2 separate regions of the Homo sapiens genome follow, and region 2 is linked to region 1. Evidence: promoter capture Hi-C in 16 types of primary human blood cells and fetal thymus (Javierre and others, 2016). All regions are on one chromosome and are shown on one strand. The core of a region is centred on a gene start or on the middle of the fragment in contact, and the rest is flanking DNA. Distances in the headings are between cores, read along the strand shown. Region 1 holds the start of C1QL4 (complement C1q like 4). Region 2 overlaps RHEBL1 (RHEB like 1).

Region 1 (4,845 bases), core at 1,515-4,014:
CTCCTCTCCGCTCCCCCTGCCAACTCTGCCCCCCACTTCCACTGCCCCTTCTTTGTCCTGCAGCACACCCTTCTCTACCTACTTCCCATTCCCAACCATACCACCTCCCTGGGGCTTCCCAGTTTGGCTGCCAGAGGAGTTCTGGGAAAATTGTCCCAGACCCTGGCCTGGGCCCCAGCATTGCCTCGAGCCCAGACACTTGGCTTCTGGCCCAAGGTGCACAGGCTGGCCTTGGCCCCACCCAGGTCCCTTCTTGGCAGAATGTGGCAGCTGCAGGGGAAGCAATAAGGACCTGGTGAGCTGGCAGCTTCATTCCAGAGTGTGGGAAAAGAGCAACAGAACATGAATAAATTCATGGAGCTGGCCCCTCAGCTCCCCGTGAGCCAAGCCGGCTCCCCCGACCACACAGATCCGCTGCTGCCTGCAGCCCTGCTGGTCACCACATCTCACAGCCTGGGCTGGGGATGGGAGGAGAGGGGAAGCTCTAGAGAGAAGAGGACTGGGACCTGAAAGGGGCTGAGGTGAGGGACTTAAAAAGGGGACCTTGGTGAGTAGAATGAGTGGAGTGAGGAGTGTGGCTGGGCAGAGGGGGTCTCTGGTGAGTGGAGGGAGGGAAAAGGGAGGGAGAGGAGTCAGGACCTGGGGTGGATGGGGCCTGAGGATCAGGCAGGGGAGGCTGGTGTGAGCCTGGGCCTGCTCTCTGATCCATCCATCATCCAGCCTGGGGGAGCAGATCCGGAATTAGACATGCAGAGGGCTGACACGGCCCTCAGCCCCCCGAGGAAGACAAATGGCGACAAAGACCTTGAATAAAATTTGTATTTATGGTTGGAGGAGGAGGCCCCTCCCCCACTGACTGCCAATCCTTTCTCTCCCACTCCTTGCAGACATGTAGGGGCCTCCCCCAACCCCCAACACAGGCCCAGCCTTAGGAACCTCTCTCTCCCAGCATCATTATGAGGCGGGGGTCGGGGGTGCAAGGAAGGAGTACAGAAAACAAGAGAGGAGGAAATCACTCTCCATCCAATAATCATGCCCTGGTGTGCCCTGTGCCCTCCATCTTACACAATGTTCTCCCATACATGATAGTCCTGGCTTATCCTGGTCTCTAAGAGGCCTTTGCAGCTGCTCACCTCCAGGGTCTCCAAATGCCCCCACTTTTTACCAGTCCTAGAACCTGTTTTCCTAGCCTCTGGGGTCCCTGTGAGCAAGACATTTTCCCCAGAAGGCCCAGGCCCTAAGAGAGGATGCAGCCAGTAGCTTTTTCTCTGGACTCTGATCTAGCAATGCCTGTGTCTAGCAATGTCTTGGCCGCTCGGAAAGACAGATACAGTCCCCTCTTACAGGAGGGTGCCTAGCACCTAATCTGCATTTTACTTACATTAATTTGCATGGCCAACTTCAACCCCCACCCAAATACCCATTATGTGGGATCCAACTTCTCTGGGTTTCATCTAACAACAAACTCTTGAAGAAGGAGGAAGGGGCAGAGACTCCTGGGACTGGATAAGTCTGGGACCAGGGCAGGGGTGGCATTGGGCTGAGCTGGGCAGGGCAAATGAGAAGACAGCTGTCTTCTGACTTCCTCTCTGTCCAGTAGAGTCCTTCATTCTCAGTCCCAAGGTAGGAAAAATGGCATTTGTGGGCTCCAAATTGAGGGACTAGGAGGAAGACAAATACAAATACCTCCCTTCAAACAGCCCTCACATATACATACACAAAGACAACACACAATCCACAATCGCACTCACCCAGGGACACACAGGGCCAGGATCCCATGGCCACCTCCACACTTTGGAGCACACTGTCACAATGCACAGGCCCAGAGCCTAGCACTGCTGGCAGAGCCGCCCTGCCCCCGCATCTTCCCCACAGTTGATATGTCACATTGGAGTCCAAACACGGACCTGGGTGTCTCTCTGCAGCGCGCCATTTACATTTCTCTCTCGATCTGTCAACCTGTCCCGGCTCTGTCTCTCTTCCTCTGTCTCTGTCTCTCCCTCTCCCCCTCTGGGGCTGTCAGTCCGTCTCTTTTCGAAGCTTTGTCTCTGTCTCTGCATCTCTATCTAGCTTTCCTTCTCTTTGATTTCTGTCGCTCCTTCTCTGCTTTCTTGTCGGTTTCTTGCTTGCTCCCCCGGGCTGATCTGTTCTCTTATTTTCTCTCTCTCTCTCTCTCTCTCTCTCTCTCCACACAAACACACACACACACACACACACACACACACACACACACACTCCGCTCCGCGCCCCAATACTGAGGGGTGGGGGTAGGGTTGGCTAGAGATTTGCCTTTTCCAGTTCAGGCCAACTAGTATCAGTTGAATCCTTTACCATGTTATTCGGTCACGGGCGCTGAGGTGCGTGGGGTGGTGAATTTCTATCTTTTCTAGCCCTTCTTATTTTGTTTTCTGTTTGTTTGTGAGGTCCCTCCCCCTCATTTTAGCTCGGGAATCTACCCCTGTCTTCTCTGCGTGTTTGTATCTTGACCCCTCTTTATCCCATCGCTGTTTTGGGTTTCCTCTGGCCTCTGAGAATGCCAAACTCCGGGTAAAGGGTAAAAGTAAAGATACAGCGGGGGCCGCGAAACCCTGAAGAACCCGCTCAGAGCCGGGAAGGAACCTAGGGGCAGTGGGGGAGTGGAGGGGAGGCGGGGAGGACGTGGGTGGGGGCCGCTGCCTGCCCCGCCCCCGCACTTCCCACTCTGGGCACCAGGGGTCGCTCCGCCTCTGGCCGCTTATAGTGGCTCCCGCCGCGCGGCGCCTCATACCACCCGCGCCCGGGAGGGAGGGGAGGAAGGTTAGGGAGGCGGAGAGGGACCGCGCCCGCAGGAGAGAGGCGCGGGCCAGGGCTCTAGCAGGGACTGGGGCCGCGGCAGGGGTAGCAAGGTGAGTCGGTGCTTGCCAAGAGGCAGAGCGCAAAACCTACTAGGAGATCGCGCCCGGTGAGCAGCACCCGCAGCTCAGAGCCCGGGACGTCCGGAGCGCGGGGAGCAGTCCCCTCTCCATCAGGGAGTGGTCTATCTGGGCAGTCTGGGACCCAGGCACCGCGCCATCCCTGAGAGAGCAGCAGTCTGGAGAGCAGGCATCTCAGATCCCTAAGAAACCAGCCGTCCGAGAAGCCGCGGATCTCAGGTGCCCAGGATCGTTAGGACTGAACGGGAGGGTACTAGAGGACCACTGGCTCTGGACCGTCGGGAGCTGCCCCTGACGTAACCCACGAGGGGCCTCCCCTTGACGGACGGCTTGGGGAGCGGCACCGCCGCGGCTGGAGCCCGCAGAGGCAGGGTAAGGGGAGCGGGGGGCAGCCGTCGGGGGAGTGCAGACCCAGGCCCAAGGCGGGTCACCGCCTCCTGGCCCGCGGAGAGCCCCGGCCCCGGCAGCCATTGCGCCCAAGAGTGAGGAAGATTTGCTGGCCCTGGCAGCGTCGCGGCTGAGCCGCCGCAAGAGGGTGGCGGGCGCGGCCGTCGGAGTGGCCATGGTGCTGCTGCTGCTGGTGGCCATCCCGCTGCTGGTGCACAGCTCCCGCGGGCCAGCGCACTACGAGATGCTGGGTCGCTGCCGCATGGTGTGCGACCCGCATGGGCCCCGTGGCCCTGGTCCCGACGGCGCGCCTGCTTCCGTGCCCCCCTTCCCGCCAGGCGCCAAGGGAGAGGTGGGCCGGCGCGGGAAAGCAGGCCTGCGGGGGCCCCCTGGACCACCAGGTCCAAGAGGGCCCCCAGGAGAACCCGGCAGGCCAGGCCCCCCGGGCCCTCCCGGTCCAGGTCCGGGCGGGGTGGCGCCCGCTGCCGGCTACGTGCCTCGCATTGCTTTCTACGCGGGCCTGCGGCGGCCCCACGAGGGTTACGAGGTGCTGCGCTTCGACGACGTGGTGACCAACGTGGGCAACGCCTACGAGGCAGCCAGCGGCAAGTTTACTTGCCCCATGCCAGGCGTCTACTTCTTCGCTTACCACGTGCTCATGCGCGGCGGCGACGGCACCAGCATGTGGGCCGACCTCATGAAGAACGGACAGGTGAGATGCCCCTCTCCCCAACCCAGCTCAGACTGGTCGCTCTCTAGATCTCCCTGCACTCATCCCACAACCTGAGATTATTCCCCGAAACAGCGTCACTGAATCCAGGAACGCGAGGCTGCCAAGAACGATAGATGACTTCATTTACCCACAGAGGAAATTGGGGGCCAGAGAAGGAAAACCTTCTGCCTAGGGCCTCACGGAGTGTAGGAATGGTGTTAGAATTAGAACTCAGGACTTAAACCTGAGTGTCTCTGCAGCTGTGACCTCACATTGCAACTATGGGCAACACCAGATGTCTTTGGTGTCTCGCCCTGCCAACTCGCTTCTTTTCTCGTCCTGTCTTGGGCTATCCTTTCTTCTGCGGCAGCCCCCCTGGCCTTTGGGTCTCTCAGCCTTGCATTGGACCAGCTAACTGGAGTCTAGGCTCCTTCGAATTAGAATGGAATCCATGTCTCAGGCAATAGGAAGTCAGCAGCTGTTCTCATGTTGAGGGCATTCGGGTTGGATGTTTGAGGAAAAGGTATAAAAGGAAGAAAACATTTGCCTGCTCACTTCACCTGCCGATCAGCTGTTCTGTTGCTCACCCCAGGGCTGGGGGCCTAGAACGGCCTTGCCCTCAGCAGAGTCTGTGGCTTGGCAGCTCAAGGGCCAGCCAGGTGGCTGGAATGAATGGATTTGGGGGAGGAAAGAGGCAAGGGACAGGTAGAATAGCCTTGGGCCCTGGCCTGGTCTTGTAGGCCCCACACCCTCCCTAGCAATCTCTCAGTATCCAGGTTCCACAGTTCCCTGCCCTTGTGGGCAGTTGGAGTCACTGTTGCCTCTGTTTTCGGG
Region 2 (4,757 bases), core at 664-3,163, 270 kb after region 1:
TGAACCTGGGAGGCGGAGGTTGCAGTGAGCCGAGATCGTGCCACTGCGCTCTAGCCTGGGCAACAAGAGTGAAGCAATGTCTCAAGAAAAAAAAGAAAAAAAAAAAAGAATAAAAAGAATGTAAGGGGGAAGGGAGTGGGAGGGATGAAGATAAATTGATCAATGGGTACAAATATATAGTTTGATAGAAGAAATAAGACTTAGTAGATCAGTAGGGTGACTATAGCTTACAATAAGCTATTTTACATTTCAAAATAGCTAGAAGAGAAGAATTCAAATGGTTCTAGCATAAAGAAAAGCCAAATATTTAAGGTGATGAATATTCCAGATACACTTATTTGATCTTTACAAATTATATGAATGTATTAAATTGTCACATGTACCCTGAAACTTGGTACATCTATTATTCATCAATAAAACAAAAGTAATTACTTTATTTTTCTTTTCTTTTCAAGACAGTCTCGCTCTGTCACCCAGGCTGGAGTGCAGTGCCGCAATCTCAGCTCACTGCAACCTCCACCTCCTGGGTTCAAGCAATTCTCACGCTTCACCCTCCTGAGTAGCTGGGACTACAGGCATGCACCACCATGCCCAACTAATTTTTTGTATTTTTAGTAGAGACAGGGTTTCACCATGTTGGCCAGGCTGGTCTCAAACTCTTGGTCTTAAGTGATCCGCCTGCCCTGGCCTCCCAAAGTGCTGGGATTACAGGTGTGAGCCACTGCGCCCAACCAATAATCTACTTTAAAAAATGCTGCCAAAAAAAAAAAAAAAGGTAAGGAGACAGCCAGGTGCAGAGGTGCACACCTGTAGTTCCAGCTACTTGGGAGGCTGAGGTGACAGGATTGCTTGAGCCCAGGAGTTCCAGGCTATAGGGTGCTAAGAGTGCGCCTGTGAATAGCCACTGCTCTACAGCCTGGGCAACATAGCAAGACCTCATCTCAAAAAAAAAAAATGTAATTAGCCGGGCATGGTGGCAGGTCCCTGTAATCCCAGCTACTCGGGAGGCTGAGGCAGGAGAATAGCTTGAACCCGGGTGGCAGAGGTTGCAGTGAGCTGAGATCATGCCACTGCAGCCCAGCCTGGACAATAGAGTGAGACTCTTGTCTCAAAAAAAAAAAAAAAAAAAAGTCAGGGGACATACATCGCTGGTCCTATAAGGCACTTCACAGTCAAGTTTTCTTTTCTTTTCAGCTTACAGCAAGATAGTGACTCTTGGCAAAGATGAGTTTCACCTACATCTGGTGGACACAGCAGGGCAGGTACCAGTTGGGGTATGGTATCCAAATGTGGCAGTTCAGCCCTCGGAGATGAAGTCTGGTAGTCTTTGTGGCTCATCCGTAAAGTAGTATTAAAAGCATTTTACCTGCTAACAGTATGCAGGGCTCATTGGAGCTGTTCCATAAATACATGTTGAAGTGACTATAGTAGGGCGTGCCCCAGGGAGGGTCACCTGGATGTTGTCCCACCAACCTTTGCCATCTTAGTGGTTTGGATCTAGGTACTGATGTTTCCCATTTCTTGCCAGGATGAGTACAGCATTCTGCCCTATTCATTCATCATTGGGGTCCATGGTTATGTGCTTGTGTATTCTGTCACCTCTCTGCATAGGTAAGTGACCAAGGTTGTGAGTGCGGGACTTGGGAGAACCTGAGGACTGTCTCATAAAGTTATAGCTCCAATTCTTGTGTTTAAAGCTTCCAAGTCATTGAGAGTCTGTACCAAAAGCTACATGAAGGCCATGGGAAAACCCGGTAAGTGGCCCTGGGGGATAGGGACATAGTGTGGGCATGAGGGGGTGGGAGAGAGCAGAGGGGAGAATTGTCAAGTTAGAGAGGAGGCTCGGATATAGATCCTGCCTGGTCTGATAAGGAGTCGTCCAGCCTTGATGTAAGGAGTTGGGGAATGCGGGGAATGAGGGGATTCTGAAGTAACTGCTGTTTCCTCACAGGGTGCCAGTGGTTCTAGTGGGGAACAAGGCAGATCTCTCTCCAGAGAGGTATGTAAATCTCTGCTACTCAGAGCAAAAGGAAGTGAAATGGACTGGGAATCAGTCAGGCTCTCATCCTGGCTCTTCCACTGACTCAAACAAGTCATTTCACCTCTCTTTGTCTCTAACCTGAAGCTTAAGGAAGATAATACTTCTATCTTAAAAGCCACAATTTCATATTTCAAGCCTCAGTCCTAGATTCACCCATTGTTCCTTTGTTTACCTATATTTTCTCCTTCCACAGCCCTCCTCCCAAAACTTGGGGAAATGGCATGGGTCAGAGAAAGTCTTTTTCTTCTCTATTTTTTTTTTTTTTAGACGGAGTCTTGCTCTGTTGCCCAGGCTGGAGTGCAGTGGTGTGATCTCGGCTCACTGCAACCTCTGCCTCCCGGGTTCAAGCGAGTCTCCTGCCTCAGCTTCCCAAGTAGCTGGGACTACAGGCGCGTGCCACCACGCCCAGCTAATTTTTTGTATTTTTAGTAGAGACGGGGTTTCACCATGTTAGCCAGGATGGTCTCGATCTCCTGACCTTGTGATCCACCCGCCTAGGCCTCCCAAAGTATCGGGATTACAGGCACAAGCAACCGCGTGTGGCCCATTTTTTTTTTAATAGAGATGGTGTTTCCCTGTGTTGTCCAGGCTGGTCTTGAACTCCTGAGCTCAAGTGATCCACCACCTCGGCCTCCCAAAGTGCTGCATTACAGGCATGAGCCACTGTGCCTGGCCAGGAAGTCTTGATTCTGAAGATTTTTCAGAGCACTTACTGACATTTCTATCCTCCATCTTTATGTCCCAAATTTGCTTCCAGAGAGGTACAGGCAGTTGAAGGAAAGAAGCTGGCAGAGTCCTGGGGTGCGACATTTATGGAGTCATCTGCTCGAGAGAATCAGGTGCTGGGCCTGAAGACTAGAAGGGTGGTGATGGTAGCTGTGTTTTCCTTATTGTACTGCTTGGTGGTGGGAATGTTGCGGGAATGGGGCTTTCACCCCAGAGCTGGGTGGTATTGGCACTGAACTGACTTTTGCCCTGAATCCTCTCCTCTTATAGCTGACTCAAGGCATCTTCACCAAAGTCATCCAGGAGATTGCCCGTGTGGAGAATTCCTATGGGCAAGAGCGTCGCTGCCATCTCATGTGAGCCCTTGGGTGTGGGGTAACTGCCTTGCTTCTGCCCCCGGCACTTGCCATGTTCCAGTGGGGGGCAGATCCTCAGGACTTCACGGGTATGGTTGCCAGCTGTGTTCCTGGCCCCTGGACACACAGTGTGGCATCCTCATGTTTGCACACTTTCCCCAGGCTCCAGTGGCCTGGATGTCAATGTTTACAAAGGGGCAAGGACCTCTCATGGACACTGGCCTCTAGCCCTCTGTTTTTGTTTGATGAATTCTGTTATAACCTATGGGGTCAGGATATGAGTCCTGGGCATTATTTATCCAGGACCCATCCTCTTGGGTGGGTTTTGGGTGTTGGCTGGGTAAGGGGAGCCGGGGACTTCTGAAATAGAGCTGGCTCCCTGGGGTGACAATGTATATATGCAAATAAATTGAGAAATCTTTTGTTGTTGACTTCTTTTTCGTGTGTGTGTGTGAGACGGAGTTTCACTCTGTTGCCCAGGCTGGAGTGGTGCAGTGCTGCAATCTTGGCTCGCTGCAACCTCCGCCTCCCAGGTTCAAGCAGTTCTCCTGCCTCAGTCTTCTGCAGGCACCCGCCACCATGCCTAGCTAACTTTTTTATTTTTAGTAGAGATGAGGTTTCACCTAGGCCAGGATGGTCTCGAACTCCTGACCTTAAGTGATCCACCCACCTCAGCCTCCCAAAGTGCTGGGATTACAGGCGTGAGCCACTGCCCCCGGCCTTATTTTATTGTTGACTTCTATGTATCTAGTGAGAGCTCAGAGCCAAGATCTCTTTTTCCAAGGAGTGATGGCTGTGGTCTTTGGTGGGATATCTTTCCTCCTACCTTGTTCCTATTCCTTATTCCTCACTTATTAAGGACCATTATCCTAAGATTTACTACTTGCCTTTCCCACCTTTCTATTCTGCTGGGTTCCTCATATACTAAGTCCAGTTGGCTGCCACTCCCATCCAAGTTTTGTAGCCTTTCAAGATCCCCTTAATTACAGAAACACCACCCTCTAGTGGCCAACTGCAACATGCTGACCTAGCTGTCTTCCTGGGGCCTCGGCATTTGCTTGGATTCAAAGATGATGGGGTTTCAGGAGAAGAAAGGAAGCCCCTCATTCCTAATGATGTAAGAATTGAGAAGGAGTGTAGAGGCAGAGACTAAAGTGTTGTGAAGACTTTGACTTCCCAAGAGTGTTGAGTAAAGTAAGAAATAATGCCTCCGGTGCATATCAGTCCCCTGGCCCTCCATGTCCCCAGTGTCTTCCATTAAAATGGCCGTTCTTTGCTGTTTTCATACCTTTAATCTTTTTGTACTTTTTACACCTTTGGTGGTGTGCTACTTTTTTTTAGGTGTCAAAGGCTATTGGTTCTGCTTTTATGGGCCTACCGCCTCAATGAATTGATATTTCAGCTAGGAAAGTTTGGTCCTGTTTGCCTCTGCTTTTCTTGATCCCCACCCTCCCACCAGCCTGATTGCCTAACTAGTCTAATACCTCCTCCAAGGATGTGTAAGGGTTATTTGAATGGTAGATCTTCACAGAGAAGGTACAGACCTCTTCTGACAACTGGGGGAGCCCGAGGTACCCTATCAATGTACTTACTTGGGAAGGATTGACAAAACCTAGATGTGATTTTTAGCTGTG

The links. The method cuts DNA at HindIII sites, captures the fragments that hold promoters and counts their contacts. A CHiCAGO score of 5 or more calls a contact.
Region 2: a fragment that was not itself captured here is called in contact with the fragment with the promoter of C1QL4 in region 1 in 1 of 17 cell types (M2 macrophages); the score reaches 5.4 in M2 macrophages.

What each region holds. Positions count from the first base shown.
Region 1 is chr12:49,335,107-49,339,951 of GRCh38, reverse strand. C1QL4 (complement C1q like 4) reads left to right here and starts at 2,764. Exons shown (of 2, transcript NM_001008223.2): 1 at 2,764-4,011. The coding sequence starts at 3,475. RefSeq lists a silencer at 2,591-3,000 and an enhancer at 3,369-4,168. The HindIII fragment of the contact is 8,443 bases long and covers 2,043-4,845 here.
Region 2 is chr12:49,063,473-49,068,229 of GRCh38, reverse strand. It overlaps RHEBL1 (RHEB like 1), which reads left to right. Exons shown (of 8, transcript NM_144593.3): 3 at 1,195-1,262; 4 at 1,529-1,611; 5 at 1,698-1,754; 6 at 1,952-1,999; 7 at 2,799-2,880; 8 at 3,038-3,554. The coding sequence ends at 3,127. Among named protein-coding and RNA genes, the nearest start is that of RHEBL1, 4.1 kb to the left of the region's middle. The HindIII fragment of the contact is 428 bases long and covers 1,700-2,127 here.